6 separate regions of the Homo sapiens genome follow, and regions 2, 3, 4, 5 and 6 are each linked to region 1. The links are contacts of gene promoters, found by promoter capture Hi-C in blood cells and fetal thymus (Javierre and others, 2016). All regions are on one chromosome and are shown on one strand. Each heading gives the region's core, a stretch centred on a gene start or on the middle of the fragment in contact. The rest is flanking DNA. Distances are from core to core; before and after follow the strand shown.

The links. The method cuts DNA at HindIII sites, captures the fragments that hold promoters and counts their contacts. A CHiCAGO score of 5 or more calls a contact.
Region 2: the fragment with the promoter of RICTOR here is called in contact with the fragment with the promoter of PTGER4 in region 1 in 7 of 17 cell types (fetal thymus, total CD8 T cells, naive CD8 T cells and 4 more); the score reaches 9.9 in fetal thymus.
Region 3: a fragment that was not itself captured here is called in contact with the fragment with the promoter of PTGER4 in region 1 in 1 of 17 cell types (fetal thymus); the score reaches 6.2 in fetal thymus.
Region 4: a fragment that was not itself captured here is called in contact with the fragment with the promoter of PTGER4 in region 1 in 2 of 17 cell types (non-activated CD4 T cells and fetal thymus); the score reaches 7.7 in non-activated CD4 T cells.
Region 5: a contact is called between a fragment that was not itself captured here and the fragment with the promoter of PTGER4 in region 1, in 2 of 17 cell types (non-activated CD4 T cells and fetal thymus). The highest score is 5.8, in non-activated CD4 T cells.
Region 6: a contact is called between a fragment that was not itself captured here and the fragment with the promoter of PTGER4 in region 1, in 1 of 17 cell types (M0 macrophages). The highest score is 6.2, in M0 macrophages.

Annotation. Positions count from the first base shown.
Region 1 is chr5:40,677,237-40,681,723 of GRCh38, reverse strand. PTGER4 (prostaglandin E receptor 4) reads right to left here and starts at 1,809. Exons shown (of 3, transcript NM_000958.3): 1 at 1,246-1,809; 2 at 1-773. The coding sequence starts at 730. RefSeq lists an enhancer at 264-791 and a silencer at 1,927-2,146. The HindIII fragment of the contact is 6,362 bases long and covers 1-3,646 here.
Region 2 is chr5:39,071,827-39,076,313 of GRCh38, reverse strand. RICTOR (RPTOR independent companion of MTOR complex 2) reads left to right here and starts at 1,915. Exons shown (of 38, transcript NM_152756.5): 1 at 1,915-1,985; 2 at 2,156-2,203. The coding sequence starts at 1,937. RefSeq lists enhancers at 1,503-2,029, 2,556-3,082 and a silencer at 1,718-2,617. The HindIII fragment of the contact is 5,742 bases long and covers 1-3,611 here.
Region 3 is chr5:39,163,774-39,168,260 of GRCh38, reverse strand. All of the region lies in intron 2 of FYB1 (FYN binding protein 1), which reads left to right. Among named protein-coding and RNA genes, the nearest start is that of FYB1, 54 kb to the left of the region's middle. The HindIII fragment of the contact is 1,567 bases long and covers 1,037-2,603 here.
Region 4 is chr5:39,182,937-39,187,423 of GRCh38, reverse strand. The region is part of intron 2 of FYB1 (FYN binding protein 1); the gene reads left to right. Among named protein-coding and RNA genes, the nearest start is that of FYB1, 34 kb to the left of the region's middle. The HindIII fragment of the contact is 3,670 bases long and covers 268-3,937 here.
Region 5 is chr5:39,212,885-39,217,371 of GRCh38, reverse strand. The region is part of intron 1 of FYB1 (FYN binding protein 1); the gene reads left to right. Among named protein-coding and RNA genes, the nearest start is that of FYB1, 4.4 kb to the left of the region's middle. The HindIII fragment of the contact is 4,693 bases long and covers 1-4,142 here.
Region 6 is chr5:39,418,747-39,423,233 of GRCh38, reverse strand. All of the region lies in intron 1 of DAB2 (DAB adaptor protein 2), which reads left to right. Among named protein-coding and RNA genes, the nearest start is that of DAB2, 4.0 kb to the left of the region's middle. The HindIII fragment of the contact is 1,660 bases long and covers 920-2,579 here.

The DNA of each region.
Region 1 (4,487 bases), core at 560-3,059:
CAGCGGGGTGGCCCCGGGAGGCAACCGAGGCGGCCGCGGCCGCGTGGTGCTGCTCGGTGCCCAGCGAGGTGCGGCGCATGAACTGGCGGTGCATGCGGAGCAGCGCGCCGCACACAAGCACGTTGCAGAGGACGGTGGCGAGAATGAGGAAGGAGCTGAAGCCCGCGTACATGTAGGAGTAGGCGGCGTGCGCCGTCACGTTGGTGGTCCAGTCGATGAAGCACCAGGTGTCTGGGTACTGCAGCCGCGAGCTACCGAGACCCATGTTGGGCAGCGCGCAAAAGAGCACGTTGGACGCATAGACTGCAAAGAGCGTGAGGCCCGCCAATCGCTTGTCCACGTAGTGGCTGTAGAAATAGGCATGGTTGATGGCCAGGTAGCGCTCGACACTCATGGCGCAGATGATGCTGAGGCCGGACAGGCTGAAGAAGAGCAGAATGAAGGTGCTGTACTCGCACAGCGGCTGGCCCCCGGGCCATTGGCCCTTCATGTACGTGGCGATGGTCACCGGGCTCACCAACAAAGTGCCCAACAGGTCGGTGACAGCCAGCCCACATACCAGCGTGTAGAAGGTCGTCTCCTTCTGCTCCTTGCGCGACTTGCACAGCACCACGATGGCCACCAGGTTGCCCACCACCCCGAAGATGAACATCACCGCCGGGATGGTCACTGGGCTGTTCAGCCGGTCGGGGCTCAAGGAGGCGGACGAATTGACCCCGGGAGTGGACATGATAGTGGCTGGCGGTGCGCAGCCTTGGAGTGCAAGGCTGGGTCTGGGGATGGTAGAAGAGAGACAAAGCTGCCGTGAGCGGAAATTACCACTTGTAAGGTGTTAGACCCGCGCCCGAGAAACGATACACTGATAAGACAAGGGGAGCAACTCGATCCTACTTTCTGGATTGTAGCCACTTACCAACTGCGGCCACCAAAATCTCCAGGCTCGCGATACGTCCTGCCAACAGCACACTCTTGCTGACATTAATATTTATAAACTGATTTTCCCATTCCTCTTCCTCCCCACAATCCAACTCACTCCATTGCCAAGATGAATAAGACCCATCTCAAGGGAAAAGTAGCTCGCTAGTGCTATTCTCGATAGATTCTGAATCAATAAAATGCTCACTGAAAACAAGTTACAAAAGCAATTTGGAGAGCGCGCTCTTCCCTTCTTGGCTCTCTTCGGCGAGGGCCGCATCCCTGCGTTCTCTACCCGTTGACCCCAACGTCAGCCCAACGCCATCTCACCTGTAGCGGCAGCAGCGGTGGCAGCCTCACGAGCCCCCAGGGTCAGCCCTCAGATGTCCTGGACCCGCCTCCAACCTGCTTTCACCTTGTCCTGCTCAGTCTGGAAACTGCCAAATCTTCGGCTTCTCAAAGCCGGTCTCAGTGGCTGTCGATTTTTGGACACCGAGGTCAGAGTTGCCAGCTTTCAAAAACTTGGGAAACAAGAGGTGCAGCGGGATGGGTCAGTGAAGAATGGTGCTGGATTTCTTACTCGCTATTTTTTTTCCTTCAAAGACGAGTCCCAGCTTTGCAGTGCCCGCCGGTCTCGTCTGCGGGAGGACAGCGTTCAGGTGTGAGGCTGTGCGCGCAGGTGGCGCGGAGCCTTGGTCCCCAGCTCTGGCTGCCCTCCGCCCCAGCCACGGGCAGCACGGGCGGCTACTGGAGTTTGCGGCTGCCGCTGAGGCCGCTCCTGGCTACCTGGGGGCGGCTCGGGGTCCACTCTGCCAGAGGCTCTGGCCTGGGGCTGTTCATCTTCCTCTCGGGCTGCCGGGCTTGGAGCTCCGCTCTCGCCTTTCCACCCTCTGTACAAACTTTTCTCCTCCTCCAAGTTTCCCTGGCGGAGGCGGAGGCAAACCGCGCGCTGCCCGGGCGCCCATTGGCCGGATTGGAAGGGGGCGGAGCGCGTCCTCCCTGGGCGCCGCAGGGAAGACTGGCGGGGGGCGGTGTCTGGGCTGGGGCGGGGCTGGGCGCGCGGGGTGGGGCGGCTCCCGTGGTTTTCACGCCCTCGGAGGTGCGGAGTGGGAACTCGGAGGGGACCCTGGGAAGCCCCGGTGCTTTCCCCGGCGACCGCTTAGCCGCTCCTGAACTCGGCTTCCAGTGGGGCCACCACTGAAACCGGCGACCGTTTCCGCCTCGCTGCCTGCCGCTCGGAGTGTACTATTTCTTGAACCTCCTGTCCGCGGGCCGCAACATCTAGATCGTGGAAGAGAGGGCAGTTGTTTTAGGATTCTACCTAGGGTTGGCCGAGAAAGGAGAAGAAATACGGTGTCTGCGCTAGCGCGTGCGCCCCGGGGTTAGACTTGGGTGCGCCCAGCGGACGTGGTAGGTGGGTGGGTGGGTGGGTACCAGATTGGGCGGGGAAATAACGAAGAATCCATCCTCTCACCATAAAAGGAGTTGGAGTCAGTTGGCAGTGCCCAGACTGCGGGCTGCGCTTGGTCGGGCACCCCAGGCAAAAAAGAAAAAAAAAAAAGAGAAAGAAAGAGGAGGAGACAGTGATTGCAGCCTCTCCCGGCGCAGGTGGCAGAGCCTTGCGGCTTTGGAGAGAGGTGGAGCCTTGGTGAGGTTGGGAGGACTGCCTAACTGCGATCTTTTTCTCCATTCTTCCTCCTGGGAACTTCTCCGCCCTGAAAGGGTAGCGTGAGCTTCATGCCTTCGGCCGGCCGTGTTATACTCGTTAGACCCAATTCACCATGAATCCTTTGAAAGACTAGTGGAGAGTGAGAAGGGGGTTTCAAAGTCACTGGAGTAAAGGAATTCTCCAAGCACCACCTCATGATTAATTCTTGGAAAAGCCTGTTTGCGCGGCCCTTAGAATCATTTTGACTTCTTGTCTAATGGTGAAGTTTTTCTCTGTAATCCTTCTACTCTGTTTTCTAAAACCAGAACTAAAAACCTAAAAAATTGTAAAACTTCATGGTGTAATTAAAACCCCTTCACCATTTTTTTTAAGTAAGATTGTGTGGCCTTATTGCACAATTTAAATTCCTGGAAAAACCTCTTCCCATCTGCAGTGTACAAGCATTCTAACATATTATGTCTCCTCACAGGGTAAGTAAATAACTGGATTCTTTTATGTGATAAGCAGGTACCCATTTCTTAAATGTTATTTCGTGAACGAACAAACCTCCTAACTGGTTCTTCAGTTAGTCTCAGCAACACATGGGTAATAAGAGAAACTAAAAGGGCTTTCCGATTTCAAGTAATTACAGGTCATAAAATATCCAGAATCATATTTACTTGCAAAAGGCACTATATGGATATACTAATAAAGAATTATTCTGTTTATACTATTTACTTAATAATATGAGAAAGAAAAATACACATTTGTTAGCCAATATTAAGATTGATGGTGATTGGTCATTTTCTTAAAAATCTTCTTTTAATCAGTACTCTAATCACTTCTGTTGTCGATGCTTCCTTTGAACAGTAACCTCTAGGATTGTGTCAGCACAGAAAACAAATCAACATTAGAAAAAAGGAAACTGCACACTCTGCGCCATTCCTCACTAACCACATTGCTTTGCTATCACTCATGTCAGTTGCTTGTCAGTAAATATATGGAGGGGAGGTTGGGAAGTCCCTTATATTCACTTTCTGCTAATACAAATTTTTTTTTTCAATTTTCTTTCCATATGAAGCTTGTAAAAGAGAAAACAATTGGTTGCTATTTATTAATTTAAGAATGATGAAGAATATATTAAATATAAAAACTGAGACACACTGCTGAGATAATTAGTAACTGTTACAGGTATTAGCATGTCATTGACAAACCAGACTTGTTATCAATTGAGCTATTTTTCTTACTAGTCCTTTGAATTTTCTTTCTACAGTAGCTTTAGGAAGAAGGAAAATAAATAACCTAATGCTCAATACTAAAAAATTGTAATGAGGTTTATCTGTAGTCTCTTTTGTTGTACGATTCTTAAAACTTAAATTTAGCTTTCAAAAGTAGAAGTTGAAAGTTTAGGTAGCAAATTATTTTATTTTCTTAGTTTGAAAAACTGGGACAGTGGAGCTCAGTTTCTCTTACACTCTGCCAGGAATTTGCATTGCAAAAGGAAAGGAAAAATTGCCATAATTATGTGGGCAATTCTTGTCATTTTTTTTCAATGAAAAGATTTTTATTCTAAGCACTTTAAAAATTCTCCCTCGCAGTTTCTGCCACAATCCCTACTTCTCTATGCTGGAAGACCCCAGTTCAGTTATTTAAAACTGTCATTAAATAACTCTCTGAAGGTTTGAACTACTCCAAGAACTGTTTGATCAGTTTGATTGCTCTGTTATAGCTAATTATTTGACGAGTTTTTTGAGTAAACATATTAAGGTGGGAACCCATTTATAAACAAAGGCCGCTTGGGAGCTAGTAACCACTTTTAGTTTTCCTTGGATCAAAGGAAATATGGGACAGACAGGACCTGGGCTCAGCCAGCAGGAGTGGGGTGAGAAAGGGGATCATTTCCAGGAGGAAGGCAGCAGGATGA
Region 2 (4,487 bases), core at 666-3,165, 1.6 Mb after region 1:
GAATAAATAAATTGCACCAAGATTTTTAAAGCTATAACGGAGGGAGCACGCTTGTTGACATTAAAACTACTACTGGTAATGCCAGAAGACATTTCTTTAAAGTACTGTAATTGTGTTACATCCTTAAATCTAAGTGCAGTATCAGCCGCAGATATCTGATTGTAGACTTGGTTTAAAAAAAAAAAAAGAACTGGAATATATAGATAATTGGCAATATTCTAAGGAAGCAGTGTTCCTATTTTATTTTCCAGATGATGCTACTTTATGTTCCTTTTATTTTTCTTCTTACCACTTATTTTACAAATGACATATATTAACTATAGGATATTTAAAAAGTAGAGACAAGCAAACAAGAACAAAAAAGTGCACGTGTAATTCCACAAATGAGGGGAGAAAATCAGCTAACATTTTCATGTATATTTTCAGACTTTTTTCAACATACATGTACATATAAAATATTTTATAATGTATATTTTTAATTTCGTACATATTTAAACTTTTATTATAAAACAGGAAATTTGTAATATTTTGCTTGATTTAATATCATGAACATTATTTCCTATTACTAAGTCTACCTCTTCACTTTTAATCGTTGACATAATTTACATAATCCCTACCTTTGGTCATTTAAGTGTTTCCAAATGTTCACTCTTATTAACAACTTCAACAAATATCCCCAATATTGCTTTTTTTTTCTTTTTTAAAGTAAGCAGAGAATTGGAATAAATTAGAAATCCAGGGCACTTACTCATCCAACAGATATTTATTGAATACTTATTTGTGCCAGATATTGCATTAACTGGGAGCTGGGAAAACAGAACTGGTTAAGGCTAGATCTCCACTTTTAATTAACTTTCAGTCTCATGGAATAGAAAGATGAGCTGAGGAACTGGAGAGGACAAATCGCTCCTCTCTTTAAAGTAAATGTAGTTCAAGAGAAAGCTGCTGGGTCAGTGGCCAGGTGTGTGTGTGTGTGTGTGTGTGTGTGTGTGTGTGTGTGTGTGTGTGTGTGTGTGTGTGTGTGTGTGTACACATACGTATTAACTAAGCAGTTTCTAGAATTAAAATCCCTAATGTTAATAGGCTTATGCATAAAATAGATTAATCCACAACACCTGCATGAGCCACGATCCTAGGAGCTGCAGAGCCATAAAAGCCGGACACAGTACCCAGCAGCCTCGCCTCGGCTCCCGGCAGAGAACACCCTCTCCCCGGCCTCCCGGCGCTGGCGCGATCCCACCGCGGGGACCGCCGCCCTGGTCCCCGGCCGCTGCACCCCCTTCTCGCGTCCTACGCCTGGCGGCCAAAAACAAAACTGCCTAACCACTTCCACTTGGAGAAGCCCTCCTAGCCGAGAGGGGCATTCTGAAGATCAAGGGCGAGGCTGGAAAACAAACTTTGTTACGTGTTAACTTAGTTGGAGCAAAGCGATTCCAGGAAAGGAGTCTAAAACTGTGCGCAGCGTTTTTATAAAAAAATGTTTCAGTGGATACACGGGGGAGCGGGGCCGTCTATGGCAGGGCTTCAGAGCAAGCAGGAGACTGGCAGGCCGGCGAGAGCAGGTGGCCCGCCGGCCGCATCCCGGCCTCCTCCTCCCCGCTCGCCTGCATTTGGACGACGGCTTCCGCGGCGGCCGGAGGGGAGCATCCTCTACACTGCCAACTCGCATCAATGGGACTTTCCTCGTGGGAACTGCCCCTCCCGGCGGACGTGCCCTCCGGGTCCGGCGTGGGCGGGCGGGTGCCGCGAACTCCTTGCAGACCTTGGGTCGGCTCAGTGCTCCCTCAGCGCTGGGGCCGAGCCTGCACCACCCGCCGCCGTCGCCGCCGAGGGGGCGGGGGAGGTGCCGCGGGGGGCGGGCGCGGCGCGCGGGGAGGGGAAGGGGTTCTCGCGCGATTGGGCGAGGTTTCCGGTGTTGTGACTGAAACCCGTCAATATGGCGGCGATCGGCCGCGGCCGCTCTCTGAAGAACCTCCGAGTACGAGGTAAGCCCGCTGCAACCCTCACTCCCCACCGCCCGGCGCCCGCCACCCCTGGCACTTGCCTTCCCCTGGCCCTGGGTTGGGGAGCGAGCCGGGGCGCTGGCCGGAGCCAGGGCAGCCGCAGCTGGCCTGCGAGCCAATCCTAATTGGGGCTGTGTGTCTGTTTCGCGCAGGGCGGAATGACAGCGGCGAGGAGAACGTCCCGCTGGATCTGACCCGAGGTAACGCGGGGCGCCGCGGGCGCCGCGAGGGCGCGCTGCTGGGGAGGAGCCGGGTCCGGGGCTGGGGGCCAGAGGCAGGGGCGGGCCCCGCACGGGACCGGCGGGGTGCGGGGGCCAGAGCCGGAGCCCCGCCTGCCGGCCCGCGGGAACCGAGCCCGGGGCCGCCTCGCCGGACCCATCCCCCTACCCAGCGCCCGCTTCCCTCGCCCGAGCCCTTCTCCGGGCCTCGGGCTGCTGCGGGTGCGGGGGAGCCCCGAGTGGAACTCGGCAGACCCGGCGACCCTCTGGGCTCGAGCTCCGGCAGAGTGGTTTGCACCTATCCCGGAGTCCGGCAGCCCAAGCTAGGGGCAGCTGGAGGGAGGTAGAGGCTGTTATTTAGGTTGCAGGAGGATGTTTGAGGGAAGAGCGACCACATCCTGCCCTCCCCGTCCCCGGAGCAGAAGCCGGACCTGCTCGGTGCTTGCCGACTGCGTGACTGCTTTCCCCTTTGCCCACCGTCCTGTGGGGACCCGCAGCATTGATAACTTGGTAGTGAAACCTAGAACTGGTCATTACTGCTAAATGTCTGGTTTATGCTGTTTCCCTTCTGCTTCCCTTTCCCGGGCCGCTGGGACTGTAGTTGGCTAAAGACCGCCCCCTCACCCTGCTGCAGGTTCATTGTTTACCTTCTGCAGTGGAGATGGGTTTGTTTACACCTTCCGAACTGGGGAAACTCGGGTGATATTTTTAATGACCTAATCCCGTTACTAGCCAGTGTTTCCTCTATCACTTACAGTACTAGAGTTTATTCGACATTATCTCGTTGAAGATTTAGTAGTTACGTACAAGATTCTTTTCTCTTCCACGGTAAACAGGATTGAGCCTACTGATTCCGACGAAGTCATATTTCACACGGGCTGTAGCTTGGAGTGTAACCCGGTTCAGCTGTACAGAATCAGTTTCTGAGGTCTATAAAACACCTTAGGAAGTAAACAAAAAAACTTGTTGTAGACATTCTGTATGAGATCAGTTTTTTACCCTATGTCGTACCTGACGTAATGACTGTTATCTACAGTAATTTGTTAAAGCTGGGCTCCTTGTTGACAACGGCTAGAGTGAAAGCATAGTGCATTTTCTAATTTGTTTTATTTTGCTTATCACGATGTAAGATTACTGTTTTATAAACTGAATGGTCAGCTTTCACTTAGCTACAAGAGTACATTTTTATAACTTAATATTTTATTCTGAAAGTTCAGGGACTTAGTTTTGGGTGAACTAGGTCCTTTTACAAGACAGTTTCTAAAATATAATACAATATAGTAGAGCTTAAATCCTGAAAATGGCTACTAATTAGATTATCAATGCACTAATTTCCACCATTTTTTTCAGCAGATCGGTTTTGAGAATTAGTATAGAAAGATGTAAAGCTTTTGACTTCTGTGCAACTGTTTGGAAACTTGACTATAACACACATGTGAAAAATCTATATAAAATAGATTCACTAGAAAACTTCCTAACAAGGATAACTTCTACAATTTCAGGTCTGTAAAAGATGTAATTAGTGAGTGATTTAATTTATATACAGGCATATGTGTTTTAGATGAAGGTGAAGGGAGCCCTTAATAAACTTGAGTTTAACTTGTGCATTAAAAACCTGCTCAGATGTGGTGCTGGAAATATATAGTTGTATTTTAAATTGAGTTCGTCGAGCTCCTATATATAGTGGTTTCTCTGCTTGGTGTCAAAAATGTTGAGTTGTGGAAGAGCTTAGGTACACATCTGATTTGATAATTTTGGCTTACTCCAGTTTTACTGAGGCACACAGGTAACTGTTTACTATTTAAAATGCCATATTAACTGAGAATTTAGTAAGCACCTATGTCCATAGGTATTTCCAGGTTAATATAGATAGTGCAGAAAATGCTGTTTTCGGCTTGCCCTGACAAAATGTACTTCAGTTTGGAATAAAGTATACACAGCCATTTAAAACTGATTGCAAAAATAAAGAGTGAGGGATTGTTTGAGATCTGTATTTCTAAATCATAAGGAAGTTTGGAATTAATCTGAATCAGTCATTTTATAGTGATACTATTGTTTTAAAAAGTTGCTGTTGTGACAGACATTTCATTGTTCAAAGAAGGCTTGAAGAAAATTCATGAGGAATTAAAGTTTAGTAATAATTTGAGAACTGTGAGGCAGTTTGGGTTGCAGCTGAAGGGCAGCTGTTTGTGGATTAGATTACAGTATGTAAAAAGATAAAGTTTGGGCAACCAAAAATTTTTTTGTTTAATGCCAAGGCAGTGTT
Region 3 (4,487 bases), core at 571-3,070, 1.5 Mb after region 1:
TAATACATGACATGATAATATAGCAATGCTAAACTCAAGAGAAATATTCCTGATTACGGCACTTTAATTAAAAATGGAATATGAATGTGGGCTAAAAGTTTTTGAAAAAAATAGGCTTACTCAGCAGTTAAACACATGCTACCAATTGCAAAGGTTTATTAGCACCGTAAGAAAGTTACACAGAGACACATCTAGTTTGACTAATTTTTTTTCACTAAAATATCCATAATAAGGGAAGAGAATTAACATTTATAAAGTGTCTTTTGTGAGTTTGTGATGGGCACTGTTGTTAAATAATATAATTGTCATAACTTTATTGTGGAGTAGAATTTTTGCCTTTTTACAGAGTAAGCTGATGCCCTGGAGGATTAAGTGATTGTGCTAATGAAATTAAAAAGTGATTACAAACGTCCAGTGACGGAGAGGGTATGAGGAGACAAGACTTCATTGAGGCACATTGCTGAAGCCTCACTGGAGGACAATTGGCAGATCCTACAGGAAAATAAAATATGCAAATCTTTCATCTCAGCAATTCTACTTTTAGATCTCTGTCCTAGAACACTTCCCCCCACCACTGCCCTGCAGTTACACAGAAAAGCACAAGTAGATGCTTAACATTACATTGTTTTTAGTCAAGGGGGAAGACTGAACAAACCTGGACTATCCCTAACACAGAATACTCTGGAACATTTACAAAGAACAAGATAGGCCCAGAATAGGCAGCACAATATTCAGCATGCAGAGCAATTTAGGTTTTTAATCAGATATTCCTGTGCATACATACAAAGGTCAGTAAACACTTAGAAAAAGTTCTGCAAAGATAAACAATGGTAGTTTCTGGGAAAGAGAGGGCAAGGAGGAGTGAGAGGTCATCTGAAACTCTACTTTATCTGTGTTGTAAAGCTTCTTCCAGAAATGAGTCATGTATTATTTGTGTAATAAAAAATAACTTAAAACAAAAACAAAAACAAGGGAGAGAGAGAGAGAGACAGAGAGAGAGAGAGAACTACCCAAGATCACACCTCTAGTAGAAGCTTGATCCCCGCATCATCTCATTTCAAAACGCTCGCTCTCTCCACTGTGCCCCACTACTTCTTTGTGGCTTTTATATTTTTTTCCTTCTGTGTCTTTTCTTCTTTTAGGTTGGTGCAAAGTTAATTGCAGCTTTTACCAAAAGTAATGGCAAAAACCGCAATTACCTTTGCACCAACTTTATATATCTTTCTCTCCTCTAAAACCTGATTTATCATCTTATGTTTATGTGCTATATTTTGACTCAGGGTCCCTCCTTTCTTTTTTTATTTATATAAATTTAAGGGATAAAGTGCAGGGGTTTTTTTTCATGGATACCGTGTGTAGTAATGAAGTCTGGGCTTTTATTATAACCATCACCAGAATAGTGTACATTGTACCCATTAATTAATTTCCAATCCCTCACTCTTGCCAACCCTCCCACCCTTCCCAGTCTCCAGGGTCTATTATTTCACACTCTATGTCCGCGTCTATATTTAATTTAACTCCCACTTACAAGTGAGAACAGGTGCTTTTTGACTTTCTGTTTCTCAATTATTTCATTTAAGATAATGTCCTCTACCTCCATCCATGTTACTGCAGAAGACATAATTTTATTTTTTTATGGCTGAGTAGTATTCCACGTATACCACATTTTCTTTATCAGTGTCATCCATTTTATAAGTTTCATCCATTGATGGACACTTAGGTTGATTCTATGACTTTGCTATTGTGAATAGTACTGTGATAAACATACAAGTGCAGGTGTCTTTTTGGTAAAATGATATCTTTATTTCTTTTTTTTTTTTTTTATGAGACGGAGTTTCACCTTGTTGCCCAGACTGGAGTACAACGGCACAATCTTGGCTCACCACAACCTCCACCTCCTGGGTTCAAGCTATTCTCCTGCCTCAGCCTCCCGAGTAGCTGAGATTACAGGCACCTGCCACCAGGCCCGGATAATTTTGTATTTTTAGGACAGAAGGGGTTTCACCATGTTGGTCAGGCTGGTCTTGAACTCCTGACCTCAGGTGATCTGCTTGCCTCAGCCTCCCAAAGTGCTGGGATTAGAGGCATGAGCCACTGCTCCTGGCCGATTTCTTTTCTTTTGGTTGAATATCCAGTAGTAGGATTGCTGAATCTTACAGTAATTCCATTTTTAGTTGTTTGAGAAATTTCCATACTGTTTTCTCTAGAAGCTGTACTAATTTATATACATTCCCACCAACGGTGTATAAGCATTCCCTTTACTCGACATCCTTGCCCACATCTCTTATTATTTTATTTTTTAATAATAGCCATCCTGACTGCTGTACGATGATATCTCATTGCGGTTTTAATTTGCAATTCTCTGGTGATTAGTGATGTGGAGCACTTTTTCATATTCTTGTTGGCCACATGTGTGTCTTCTTTTGAAAAATATCTGTTCAATGTCCTTTGCCCACTTTTTAATGAAATTATTTTGGGGGTTGTGAGTTGATTGTAGATTCTGGATATGAGTCCTTTGTTGGATGCATAGCTTGCAAATGTTTTCTCCCAATCTGCAGATTGTCTGCTTATTCAGTTGATTATTTCTTTTACTGACAGAAGCTTTCTAGTTTAGTTAAATCCCATTTGTCTATTTTTGGTTTTGTTGTATTTGCTTTTGAAGTCTTAGCCATGAATTTTTGCCTAGGCTAATGACCATAAGTTTTTCCTAGGTTTTCTTTTAGTATTTTTATAGCTTCAGATCTTACATTTAAATCTTTACTCCATCTTGCATTAATTTCTTGTGTATGGTGAGAGATAGGAGCCCAGTTTCATTCTTATGCATATGGCAGTCAAATTTTCCCAGCACCATTTATTGAATAGAGTATCATTTCCCCAGTGTACATTTTTGTCGACTTTGTCAAAGATCAGTTGGCTGTGGGTATGTGGCTTTCTTTCTGGGCTCTCTATTCCATTCCATTGACCTATGTGTCTATTTTTATACCAGTGCCATGCCGTTTTGGTTGCTATAGCCTTGTCGTATAATTTGAAGACAGGTAATGTGATGGCTCCAGCTTTGTTCTTTTTGTTTAGGATTGCTTTGTCTACTCAGGGCTCTTTTTGCTTCCATATGAATTTTATGATTATTTTTTGTAAGCAATGGCAACAATAGTCATTGCCATAGCAAAAGTAGCAAATATTTAACTTAACTGAGTACCTTCTCTTGTCACATGTCTGTATATGTAGTTGTGCTTCTTACAGGTTTACTGAGTCATAGTCACTTTATCTCCCTTTGAGTCACGCTAAGAACACTTGCTCTGTCCAGGCACTACAGGGAAGCTCTGCCTTCTTTGTTGGCAATTCTAGTTCTTTCTCCAGTGCATTACAATTCTTTGCCTGGTCTAATGGTCTAATTTGTCCCTTTCAAAACTTCATAGTTTTAGCAAGGAAAAGCTTGCTTCCTGGATGAACCACACTGGTCAGGCAATTTCCTTTATTAAAATTTCTTTGCGAGGCTTTCTCTTTCTTTACTTAAAAAGGGTGTATGTCATAAATTAATGTAGCACAGGCCAGTCATGGTGGCTCACACCTGTAATCCCAGCACTTTGGGAGACTGAAGCAGGTAGTTCACGTGAGGTCAGGAGTTCGAGACCAGCCTGGTGAAATCCTGTCTCTACTAAAAATACACAATTAGCCAGGTGTGGTGGTGGTTACCTATAATCCCAGCTACTCAGGAGGCTGAGGCAGAAGAATCGCTTGAACCTGGGAAGTGGATGTTGCAGTCAGCTGAGATCACATCACTGCACTCCAACCTGGGCAACAGGGCAAAACTCCATCTCAACAACAACAACAAAAAAAGAACGTAGCCCAAAAATGTGCTGTGTTGGGTGTGCAGAGTTTTTTGTTTGATTGATTTCTTTTGTTTTAATAGTTGCCAACATTCAAAAAGTAGAGGATTTTATAGAAAAATCTAGTCTTTTTCTTCACATATTTACAGTGGGCTGGAGCCCCACAGTGGCCACCCACTGAGACAGGGCATTAGTTTCCTGTTCACCATGGTCACGTGCTCCCAGCTCAGTGCACACAGGCATGCTCCTGCCTGGCACCCACAGACAGCTGAATTTGGAGCACATGCTTTATTTCTCCTCTGTTTGCCCCTCTCTCTCCCTGAGGATGTGCTATTGCCTCTGCACATCAAGGTTTATTCCTTCTCTGCTTATAGATGTTATATTACTGGCTTATATTGATTTTATCCTAAAAGTGTTCTCAAAGGATTTCTACTGTTGATTTAGCCAAAACATTCACTATTCCCTCAAAAATTGAAAGTGTTCATCTGAGGATGTTTCTAAAACTTGATTTCTAGTGCTTTCTTTGCTCCTATAGAAGTTATTAGTACACTTTTAAAATAACTTTTCATATTTGAAGAATATTCAGTTATTGCCTTATGCCCAAATATGTTGTATCTTAGAGGAGGGAAGAGACACCCTGTAATCTATGAGCATCTGACA
Region 4 (4,487 bases), core at 853-3,352, 1.5 Mb after region 1:
ATACGGTACTTACAAGAAATTAGACCAATGCAAAAGCAAGCTAGGCAGTTGTCCTAAAATCAAGGTGCCTTTCTTTTATAATGCTTTATCGTTGGATCTTCAAAGATAAGCAAGTTGAAGAAAAACACTCTCAAGTTTTCATGCTGTAGACAGACTCCTGTGTTTGTGAGCCTAATGATAAAAGAAGAGGATGAATGTGGCACTGATAAAAACATTTTTTTCAAGCGTGTCACAGTATTTTTGTAAGCTGAAAGCTTTTTTTAAGCTTGCTTTGAAGTTGATAGGAGAACCTGCAAAAAGCGCAATGAGCACTTAACGATCTGTGAGAAGTGAGGTGTATTATGAAGACAGGACCACTTTTTTGTTTTGAAGAATGTAGGAGTTTTCACAATCATTTTTTTTATCATGAGTTAAGAGCAGTTGCTTTGTTATTAGAAAGACTTGGGTTCCAGTACCAGCTGTACCAATTACTGTAGGACCCCAAGGAGGGTTCTCGGCCTCTTTTAGCCTCAGTTTTCTCATCTGCTAATGGGGATAATAAGTCTACTATGTCATAGAATTATTGTTAGGATTAAAAGGAAATGTAGTAAAAACACGTAGCACAGTTCCTAGTACATCATAAAGAAAGACAATAATTGGCAGCAATTTAATTAATATTTTTAAAGGATAAAAGGAGAAAAAACTCAAATAAAGACCCAATGGAAATAGATGAATAATAGATGATAGCTATCAGCTGCTGCCTCAGGGATCAATAATAGTAAAAAAAAAAAAAAAAAAAAAAAAAAGCATCCAATTGTTGCAGGTGTTAAATCACATTTTGTTTTGCTTAAACATAACATAAAGATTTTCATTATCACATCAACTTGATCCTCTTGTAGATGCAGTCTCTTCCTGTGCCTCTCTTGCTGTATTACTCTGTTTCCTTAGGTATAAGTTCTACTCTTTGTTGACTTCAGAGTGCTGTTCTCTCAGTGTTGCCTTTTTTGTTTTGTTTTGTTTTTGAGATGGAGTCTCACTCTGTCGCCAGGCTGGAGTGCAGCGGCACTATATTGGCTCACTGCAACCTCTGCTTCCCAGGTTCAAGTGATTCTCCTGCCTCAGCCTCCTGAGTAGCTGGGATTACAGGCATGTGCCACCACGCCCAGCTAATTTTTGTATTTTTAGTAGAGACGGGGTTTCACCATGTTGGCCAAGATGGTCTCGATCTCTTGACCTGGTGATCCTCCCGCCTTCGCCTCCCAAAGTGTGTGTGTTGCCTTTTCAATGTTTGAAAATTCTTGATTTTGTGTTCATGTTTTAGTGGAGCTTGAATTCAATTGTCCACCGTTTCTGTTTGTGCAGCCCGCTTGAGGGAAGAGAGGGGTGGGGTTAGTGTGCCCGGACATGGGGCACTTTGACAGCCAGTCTTCAATCCAGGTGCTCCTCTTTCCTCCTGGACAAGGCAGCCAGCGGGACTCTGCTCAGCTTCGCCCACTCAAGGGCTCACTCGTAGTTCTCAGTATTTCTGTTGTGTAGAAGTCAAAAGTGCCCGGCTGTCCCTGCTTCATACCCTCAAGTAGTCACCCATGGGCCCCTACCTGCTCCCAATATTCTCCATCTCTGAGTGCGGAACCCTCACGGAGTGGCTCCAACTTTTATAGCTCTCTCTCATGCTCTCTTTGGGCTTTTATTACCTCGTTGATCTGATCTCTCTTCAAATCTTTTAGGGATTCCTCATGGTTTCTAACACACTGTGGGTTTGCTTTTTTTTCTTACTTCCAGTGTGATTATGTGTGTGTGTGTATATATATATATATGTGTGTATATATATATATGTGTATATATATGTATATATATGTATATATGTATATATATACACACACACAATCATATCATATATATCATATATATATATATATTTTTTTTTTAGTCAGTTATCTTTTCTATCCTTTCTAGAGATTTAGGGTGAGCAGAGCTTGCTGCCACATGAAGCTCAGCCTACCATCTTGACTGGGAACTTTTAATCACATATCTAAGGGGGAAAACATTGGTAAGACATTTAACTGCTACAAAGCATCAATATCAGAAAAATAATGGGTTATCTTAAAAGAATCACCTAAGGCTTAGGTTTATACAATGCAAAGAAGAGTGAAAAATTCAATCATCCTCAGGTATTGACAGTGTATTTATGATAACAATGAAGAGTGTGCACATGGTAAGAATAAGACAACCATCCTAAAGAAGTTAATTATTTATCTGGGCTTCTCAATTCTTGAAATAGGTCAAGGAGAAAGCAGTGTTTACTTGATCTAATGAGTACTCTTCCCTATCCATAGGACTTAGAAAATCTGAAGAGAATTTTAACTTAGATTCCAAAATTAAAGTATAAACGCTAATAACATATAAGCTAAAATTAAAGTTAACTAAAGCTGGGTCAAAATTGTTTTCACTTACAGTACTTTGTATCTAGGGAAAAGAATGAATGTATATTGATGCTGAAGGATGTCCATGGCATATAATTAATGAATTAATATTTTATTATAAAATACATATAATTTCTGTAAAATTGTATAACTAAGTTAGAACAGGTTGTGCATCATCTCTTGCTTTTGAGAGCATACTAGTTTTAAAACCTGTATCCAACAAGTGATCTCTATTACAACATTAAAATGAACTTGGGGGCAAAGGATGGATCATCAAGAAATGTATACATTTATTGAAGAGATTTTTTTTAAGTAACACTAACAAACTGATGGAAGTTACTTCAGCATCTTGATTCAACAAAGAATATTAAAGTCCAGTTTTCAATAGCAGTAACATATTCAATAGCATATTCTGCAAATATGAAATTAATTGTTCCTTCAAATGAACTAGCCATTCAATGTGAGAATTCTTGGCAAATTTTCTTGAAAAGGCAAGAAAGTTAACCTTTTTGTAGTCTGTGAGTATTACCCAGTGGTTTAGGATTTTCATGTTCAAACTCACCAAAATAGCCCGTTTAACTTTTGTTTTCAAAATTGCACATTGTAGTAATTTGAAATCATATAAAGTCAAACAACATTATTGATTTTATTAAGATAAGTGTACCTACCTCCTCATAGAAGAAAACTTATTTTTTGTTAAATAATTGAATTCTTTATTGTCTTAAGATATTGTTCTTCTATTTCAATAACAGAACTTCAAAATATTTCAGATTTCATTGATCAGTTGGTTGAATTATAATTTACCTCAAAACTTTGACAACAATCTGCTTTAGATAGTTTTTGGGAATAATATAATCACATTTTCTTATAAGATCACAAAATTACCCTAGAAAATTAATTTTTAATTATTTACTTTCTTTCTGAAAACCAAAAATTGCCTTTTCTTCTAAATTACTAAATAGTAATATAATACTGGGTTTGCCAGTAGATCATATAAATTTTTATCATCTCAAATTATTTCACCTGATACCTATTATAAAATTTCCTTTTTACCCATCATTCCTCAAGGCAGTGTTTCTCCCAATGTGGCCTGTGGATCATCTATACCAGAATGAGCTTAGATGCTTTTTAAAAATGAAGATTCCTGCCCTTATTCCACCACCACCATAGCCCCCTTCCTGAATCAGAACATCTTGCTTTGAGGCCTACGTATCTCCATTTTTAATAACTTGCCCAGGAGATTCTTATGTATACTGACAATAGAAACATTTTAACCCAAATCAGTCCATCTTTAAGTGGCAAATGCCTTTTTGATTTTTACAAAGTCAAGAATAGCTTGTTTTGAGTTGTTATAGAAACTCATTTTTTTAGGGACACATAGAGAGTAGGAATGGAAGAATAGAGATATCAAGGAAAACAACTTCCTGTAAACCAGGCAGTTGGTATGAATCATTCTAGAACATCTCACTGTAGATGCTGGGCTTGCCTCAAGTGATACTAGAGCTAGCATTTGGCAGTTCACTTGTGTAGAAGCTTACAAGACTTTTGGGACAACATTCATTCTCCCTTTATGCTCGACACTCTACCCAGTGCTTCTCTAAGAGGCAAGTACCCTTGGGATAGATACTAACAGGTCCAATGTATCTATTACGCTTGGTTTTAGTTGCAATTAAAGATGACTTGCATACAACCAGTCCTGGATTAGAGCTTAATCGTACCTTAAAAAAAGGAAACAAGGCCAGGAGTGGTGGCTCATGCCTGTAATCCCAGCATTTTGGGAGGCCGAGACAGGTGGATCACCTGAGGTTGGGAGTTCGAGACCAGCCTGACCAACATGGAGAAACCCCGTCTCTATTAAAAATATAAAACTACTCGGGAGGCTGAGGCAGGAGAAGCGCTTGAACCCAGGAGGCGGAGGTTACGATGAGCCGAGATCACGCCTTTGCACTCCAGCCTGGGCAACAAGGGTGAAACTCCATCCCTTCTACCCCCCAAAAAAGGAAACAAGACACCTATAGGAGACACAAGGACTTTTGAAGACAAACTTTGTCAACTTAGTTTTGCTTAGAATGAGACCTGTCTGTA
Region 5 (4,487 bases), core at 547-3,046, 1.5 Mb after region 1:
CCAACTGTGTGAACCTGGACAGATCCCTTACGCAGTTTCTTTTTTGTAAAATGAAGGACCTTGGTTCGCTAATGTTTAAGGATTTTTTCCTTTCTCAAACGTTGTGTTCTAAACCTTGTACAGGCTTCTAATTGAAATTGTTCTACCTTTAAGGCCCATTTGTCTCCTTTCTTTTTACCAAAGCCCAGGGCCAAGCATGTCCCAGGTGTTTATTATATAGTTGCTGACTGATAAGAAGTGATTGTTGGAATGCTCTCTATTGGTCACTAGGAATAAACCAAGAATGTCTTTGGGCAGGAATGAAAATCCAGTGGGAAGCTCTGGAAGTCAAGGAATATTTCCCCATCAGAAGCTGGTCTGGGGTTTCTCTGATAAATTTGGAAAGCTCAGTGGTTGTCTTGTTTTTCTACCTCTGCTAATCAGCCTCTCTAAACAGATAAGAAACCAGGAAAATCATTTAGCTATATAAATTCAATACATAACCTTGTTAATCACGTTGCTGCAGCCTGCGCCTTGTGAGTTGGTCAGAGCAGTGGATGACTTTGCTTCTAAGTGCAGGTGAAATGCCACCAAATTCACATGCTGCCTGTGACCAATGCCTAACTCAGTCTTTCCAAGCCAGGGATAATCCCAGCTGGGATGTCACCTCTAATATGGCAACAAATGGTGGTGCAGCAAAAAATAATCATGAAACAGTCTTTCTTCCCTTCTTCCTAAACTTCATCCACATAGACTGTTGGATATTTATAGAAATCCAGCACAAACACAGGGAGGGGAACGACACACACTGGGGCCTGTTGCAGGGCAGGGGGAGAGAGAGCATCATGATAAATAGCTAATGCATGTGGGGCCTGATACCTAGGTGATGGGTTGAGAGGTGCAGTAAGCCACCATGGCATGCATTTACCTGTGTAACAAACCTGCACATCCCGCACATGTATCCCAGAAAGAACTTAAAATAAAATTTAAAAACAAATAAACAAAAGAGTGAACAAAGGAGGGAGCTGCGGGTAGAATTTTAACAACATGCATACCACTATTTTTATATTAGAGATTTCTAATATATGCTAATATAAATATATGCAATATTAAAAATCGTATTATACACACACACGAAAAAAGTTTAATTTGGGAGTTTTGTAAGGGCGTGTATTATTTTCCTGTGGTTTCTGTAACAAAGTACCACAAACTAGGCAGCTTACAACAACAGAAATCTATTCTCCCTCAGTTTTGGAGGCCAGAAGTCTAAACTCAAGGTGTCAGTAGAACCATGTTCCCTCTGGAGGCTCTAGGGGAGGATTCGTTTCTGGCCTCTTCCAGCTTCTGGTGGTTCCAGGGATTCCATGGCTTGTGGTTGCATCACTAAAACCTCTACCTCTCTTGTAAAATGGCCCTCTCCTCTTCTGCTGTCTCTTCTTCTCTATCTTATAAGGACACTTGTCATTGGATGTAGTGCTACCTACATAACCCAGAATGATTCCGTTGCATGATCCTTAATTACACCTGCAAAGACCTTTTTTCCAAATAAGGTCACATTCACAGGTTCTGATACATGGGCGTATCTTTTTGGCATATACATGGGCATAATTTATAGACAAGCAACCAACATCTGCATTCCAATCCCATTCACTCGTGCTAAATCAGGGTACCTCCACCAAAAGGTGCCCCAATCCTTGCCACTGAATTTCTGCCACTCTTTTGGTAGTAATTGATCAAGAAAAATGTGAGGATAAGACAGATCCAGGATTCCACTGGTTTTTAATAATGTTTGCTTCTGAATACACCACAGGATGCCACACCCTCCCCCTTGCACCCCTGGCTGGCTGGGCTGGTGAGTCTCCCCAAAGATCCCTGAGAGGAGCACAGCAGGGTGGGTTGGACCACACAGCAAGTGCTGCTTTAAAAAAACTTCCCCCAGGGTGATCCTACCACACAATGTGCTTCTCATCATTTCCCCATCGTCATCGCAATGAAAACCACTCAAAATATTTTTATTTACCCTATCAGTCAAAAAAAAAGTAGTCAGTGAGAGTTGTGTTTATATTTCTCAAATGGATTTTTTATTATTTTATTCATATTAGATGTTTGACATTGATCCACTGTTACATTTAATTTAAATTTATAATTCTTCAAACACCTTTTTTAACATTCTTATTGAATTTTTAATTATGGTAAAATATACATAATATAAAATGTGCCATTTTAACCATTTTTAAGGGTAAAATGTGGCATTACATACATTCGCATTGTTGCGCAAACATTGCCACTATTGATTTCAGGAACGTTTTCTTCTTTCCCAACTGTAACTCTATATCCATTAAACATTAATTGCCTGTTCCCTCCTCCCTCCAGCCCCTGGCAACCACCATTCTACTTTCTGCCTTTATGAATTTGACTACTCTAGGTACATCATATAAGTGAAATCACACAATATTTTTTTTTTGACACAGAATCTCGCTCTGTTGCCCAGACTGGAGTGCAGTGGTGCGATCTTGGCTCACTGCAACCTCCGCCTCCCAGGTTCAGGTGATTATCCTGCCTCAGCCTCCCAAGTAACCTGGGATTACAGGCTTGCACCATCATGCCTGGCTAATTTTTGTATTTTTAGTAGAGATGGGTTTTCACCATGTTGGCCAGGCTGGTCCCAAACTCCTGACCTCAAGTGATCTGCCTGCCTTGGCATCCCAAAATGCTGGGATTACAGGCATGAGCCACAGCACCCAGCCAATACTTGTTGTTTCGTGACTGGCTTATTTCACTTGGCGTAATGTCTTCAAGGTTTCTCCTTGAATGTCAGAATTTCCTTCCTTTTTAAGACTGAATAACATTCCATTGTATTATAAACCTCATTTTGTTTATCCCTCTATCTGTCAACAGACACTTGGTTTGCTTCCACCTTTTGGTATTGTAAATTATGCTACTATAAACATGGGATCTACCCATATCTGCTCAAGTCCCTGCTTTCAGTTCTTTTGGGTATACACCAGAAGTGGAATTGTTGGATCATTTGGTCATTCTATGCTTAATTTTTTGAATAACCACCATACTGTTTTCTATAGCAGCTGTACCATTTTATGTTCCCACCAGCAGTGCACAAGCATTCAATTTCCCCAAATCCTGTCCAACACTCGTTATTTTCTGCTTTTTTTAAATTATAGCCATTCAAATGGATGTGAAGTAGTATCTCATTTTGGTTTACATTTTTAACTAAAAGAAAATTCTGTCTAGAAATAATAGATGACTCTCTCTGTGGTACTTTCTTTTGAAAACCATTTAGTATGTAGAAAAGCATAACACAGGAAAGGGTTTTGGTGTGTTTCATTTTTTGTTGTTCTTTGAACTAACGAAAGATGTTAACACTTTTTTCACTTTTTCATTCAGACGAAGTTGTTATATATAAATGCATTGTTATCAATCTGATTTTTGCCATGGGACTTCCCAAATTATAACTTCTTTCTCCCGTAGTATCTGTTTATGCCCCTCTTCAACCACCCCTGGTAATAAGTTTGAGGCTGCAGCCAAATGAACGATAATCACCATCTCAGGCAGACAATGAATGAACCAGAATGGTGTCCTGGGCCCCTAAACTACCAGTTAGATGGTTCATGTAACCAACTCTAAGGGGCAGCTGTTTGGAGCCAGGGTTGGGCTAAAAAAGCCCTAATATAGTCATCTACCTAAACACCTCACCCCCACACCAACACACACACAGAGACTAAATGTTTTTTCAAACAAACGGAATTGTTTGTCTTCTCTTAGTTGTTTCCCCTTTCAGATTGCCCACGATGTTGCAAAGTCAATCAGGATGTTTTGGCCTTGAGCCCTATAAACCCCATGCCTTGCTCTGTTTCCTTGCTCATCTCAGATCTGCCAGGATCACAACCATAAGTAGGACAAATGTTATCACATCCCTTGCAATGACAAGGGATTCTTGGACAGGAGGTCAATTTCTAGAGTTAGGTGGAAAACATTTTGGATTAGAATAAGAAACTGCTAAAAAGTTTTGTGTGTGAGCTGAGAACTTAAACTAGTAACTATATGACAAAGACAATGAAAACTCTGGTTCCTATGGCATATAGGGTGAGCACAGAATTTAGAATCAGAACCTGGGTTTGGTTCTCATCCTACCACTTGCTAAAGCTTAGGTGACTCAGTTTAAGGTTATATATTAATAACACTAAAAACTAATTGGGCTTTGGGAGGATCAAATGAGATATTATATGTGAAATGTTATTTTAAAATGTGATTATTAGTTTAATAATGAAATTAGGAATGGGTATAAACTACTAAACTCTAGAATTTCTTGATAATTATATGAGTATATGTAGAGTTGGGTTTTTTTTTTTTTTGGCAGGGGGCGTGTAAAGGTGATTTGTTCGCCAAGAAAAGCACTTTTAGTAAAGCACAGATGTTAATCTAGATCATGGAAAAGTGCCACACACTAGATTTAGCACATAAGCAAGGAGTCTCTAGAACACTCAGAAGAA
Region 6 (4,487 bases), core at 500-2,999, 1.3 Mb after region 1:
TTCCTCCTAAGGCCAACTAAATTCTTTTTCCTGTTGTTGGTGAATAACTTCCCCCTTCTTTTCCCACTCCCAGCTGGAAGGATCCCTTCTCATCCAAATGACTGACCTAGAAACCAGTCATTTTTCAGCTATGCCCTCCTATGCTTTAATGTATAACCAGAATAAGTAGATGGTAGAGGAATGTCTTCCAACTTTGAGCCCATACACGTATGTATTTGCCATTCTGGGGATCTTTGATCTTGATGGTTGATCTTTACCTGAGGATGTAAGTGAGGGAAGAAAGCACTTGTTACAAACCTTGTCTAATTTGTGAAGGGCAAACTCCAGAGTTTGTGTTTCTGCTAAAGACTTTTATAGTTTCAGATTAAACTGGAAGTCCAAATTCCTGTGCATTAGGCCTGTTTGTTGTCTTTCTCCAAAGGTTGAATGGATTTCACTGGCCTTGTTTGGGTTGAAGGGTACGGCTTTTAAGGCACTTGTTGGCATGAAGGTAGTACAGGGACCTCTGGCAGCTGCTGACCAGCTGTTTGGGGATGATATTTACTGGCCTGCTCAACCAGGCCTCGATTATCTGAAGGTTAAGGGAGCAGGAAGATATCTTCCTTGCTGAGTGCTCCTGGCCAAGCAGGAGGCTTTGCTGTGACATAGGCTCTTATGCTGCTTCATTTCTAACTCTACCCTCATATGTCCATAAACCTAAGTTTGCTACCACTGATATTTCATCTGGATAATTTTGAAGGCTCTGCGTGTTTCTCTTCCTCATTCTTTTGACCTGAGGATTTAATTATTGCTCTTCTTAAAGACAAAGCCAAGATGCTGAAATGCTTGGGAAAGCTGCTGAGAGTGAGCCCTCCTGGGGTTTGAAGTTGTCCTAATGCTCATCAGAACATACCTCCCCAGCTGGAAAGATTCGAAAGCTTACTGGCCAGGAAGGTTTAGGTAACTAACCAAACACATAAGGTTTTTTACCCTTTAGACAGAACCAGAATGGGAACCAGATTGGCAATATGAAACACCTGAGTAACAGGATGTGGTATTTTAAAATTCTCCCTGGCACTGCTATGTAATTCCAAAGTTGAAGCTGTGCCGCTGAATTGCACAAAGGTTGGCCAAAATCATATTTAGGTGAAACAGATTTTTGTTTTGTTTTGTTTTGTTTTGTTTGAGACAGAGTCTCCCTCTGTTGCCCATGCTGGAGTACACTGGCATGAACTTGACCCACTGCAGCCTCTGCCTCCTGGGTTCAAGAGATTCTGTGACCTCAGTCTCCTGATTAGTTGGGATTAGAGGTACCCGCCACCATACCTGGATAATATTTTTTTTTTTTTTTTGTAGTAGTAGTAGAGACGGGGTTTCACCATGTTGGCCAGGCTGGTCTCGAACTCCTGACCTCAAGTGATCCACCCACCTCGGCCTCCCAAAGTGCTGGAATTACAGGCATGAGCCCACCACACCCGGCCAGATGAATCAGATTTAACACCAGATATGTGTCTTTAAAGGAGACCCAACTCATAATATCAGCATATCCTGACTGGATTAACTGGTGGAAATCAGAAGGAAAGCAGACTCCTCAGTCTTTACTTAAAGACAGAAAACAAGCAAATTCCTGGTTAGGGGAACAAATGATGACTGGTACGGACACAGAGGGCTAACATTCAACACTGGCTGCCTCCAACAGGGCACAATTGGATAGTAGTTGAGAACTACCTTCTGAAGTACCATTTCCTGGGTTCAAATCTTAGCTACAGGGTTGCAGGTTACATGGCCTTGGGCACATTCCATAACCTCTCTGTACTTCAGCTTGCTTATCTGGGGAGAATAATAGTACCTACCCCAGGATTGCTGGGAAGACAGCTAATCTAATATACTTGGAATACTTTTTCCCATCTGATTTTGAAGGTTTTGTTTGTTTGTTATTACTCCCCCCTGAACAACTGAATTAAGTGTCTTTGTGAAAACTGAAAGCAAATGGAAAATTTCTTCATGAAAATTGAATACCCTTCACCTACTTGAAAAAGGTTAATTATTCAAGCACTTGATTTTAATAAAGCCAGTGCGTTTGCTTGTGCTCATGCTAGAACAGACAGGGAGTTACTCTCTGTTTTCGTCCTGGAAGCCTGCACTTTGGTTTGGTCAGGCTGACCTCGCTGGTCTCAATTAAGTCCTCCCCACACCCTCTCAGACTCCTGACAGAGAAGGAGCAATCCTTCCCCCTGAAGTCAGCATTGTCACAGAAGGAAGTGGGAAGGGAGGGACCACCCGGATTAAACTGAATGACTAGGCTAGAAATAAAAATTCTTCCGAGTGTGTGCAGGCCCCATACTATCCTTGCCCACATAGCTGGGCAGGTTGCCATGGTTACTCCCCTTCCCGCATCCTTCTACCCTGGAAGGAAGCCTGCCTCTCTAGGGGAAGTAGAATCTGAACAAATTGCTTCCTGGTCTAAAAATGGAAGTTACTAAGTGAAGTAGAATCTCCTCTCTACTTATATCACCCCCTCCAAACTTATTTTAATCCCAATACTTAATTTTCTAACCTTCCTAGTTCTTGCATCATCTAGATAGCAAAACATGAAAGCTTATGAAATTTCTGGAACCTAAAAGTTACTACCTCAATATAGAAGCAGCCTGGCAAGTTTTCCCTACTACATTTGTACTAGCTAGCTAGGGGCAAGTGATTTTTAACTAAGTCAACTGGTAAAAATTCTAAGTGAATGGGGCAGGCTGAGTGAGTGTTACGTTGAAGGTAAACAATGTATGAGGGCTGTCACTTAGATTTTCAGGTAACCATAGAGTAAAGGGAGCAGGTAAATAGGAAGTAACAATCCTAGAATGCTGGATTTGAAGCACCTTTCAACCTAGAAGAAATCTGGATGAGGGAAATATGGTTTAATGTTGTCTCTTGGTAAAAAACTACCCTATTGCTACCTAGCAATATGATGCAAAATGTTAGTCCCAAAAAGACTTTGATCTTTATATGAAAGATGAGCTGCCATACACAAGTTTGCATTTGACAAATTAATTCAGTCTTTCAAAATTGGACATTTAGCTTGATGTGTATTTCACAGCTTGAGGGAACTCATCTAAGACAATAGTTCTCAGAGCTGATTCCCAAACCAGCAGCATCAACATCAGCTGGGGACCTGTCAGAACTGCAAACTCTGGAAGTAGGGCCCATCCAGCTGTATCTAAACTAGCTCTCCACCACGTGATCCAAGAGTAACTTTCATAATTCAGTGGTTTTAGGATTCACTTCTTCAGTGGAAATCATAACAAAGTATTTGAATTCCTTCAGTCATGGAGATAATAAAGCAAAAGCCTTTAAACACAGTGCAGTTTAACTGAATCTTAGGATGCAGAAAGATTAAAAAGCATGGGATTTGGATATTTTTCCCATATACCAAGTATGACTTTCTTGATCCTAGGAAATCCAATATACTTTTGGTTTGATATTATCACCTCACTTCCAAATCTTTTCCCCTCTGCTGGGGTTTTTAAAGAGTATAATTAATCTTCATTTATTAGGAGACTGTCCCACTTACTTCTTTTAAAAAGGATTCCAGTAAACTAGATCATTACCCTTGAACCAGATGGTTTTCTCTAACCTATAAAACTTTTTATTTTGTTTTTATGCCATGTCTAGAAGTGCAGATGAAGTCCTCTCCATAAATGAGTCTACTTCATTTAGTTTTTGTAAAGTTTAATGGCTAACGAAGCACTGCTCCTTTCTCCCATTCGACTTTCACTTTAAGTAACTTGAAATAGAAAAGATATCTCTATTTATTGGCTCCAATATGATGAGTATCTTGCCCAAGGTGTTATCATTAAGTGGTAGAGCCAGGATTCAATTATGAATCTTTATGATTTGCACCTTGGCGTTTATCTGAATACTTAGCAATTACCTACTATGTGAAGTCTGATGCTAGGTTAGCAATGGAAAATCTCCCAGTGAGCAGAAATCAAAACAAAAGTCTTCCTCATGTGTGGCAAAGGACATAGGATAGAGAGTTAAACAGACTTACATGTGAATGGCAGTGCTACCATTTCTTGGGCATGCTATTCAATGTCTCTGGCCCTTAGTTGTCTCACTTACCTTGCAAAAACAGTCCTAAGAATGCCTGATGTCAAACAGAGATCACATCTCAAACTGAAAAATACAAGGGTGTGATGTACAAGTATATAATTGGAACTCTGATTTTGAAAAGCCAACATAGATTCATGGTTAAGAGCTTGGGTTCTAAGCTGCAAATGACTGTGCCCACAGCCTAGCTTTGCCATGTAAGACAAGCTATATAAGGCCTGAGCTTCATTTCTCCATCAGGAAAATGAGTTGCCTCGATTTTAAAATTAAAAACTCTTCAGAACTCCTGCGGCTGCTTCTGAAATTTACCTGTCCTAGAAATGCAATTCTCAATGCAATAACTAAGCTGATATTTTTTAAATGGTCTTGTTCTCATTGTTTTTGAGTATCAGGCAAGCTAAATTCTA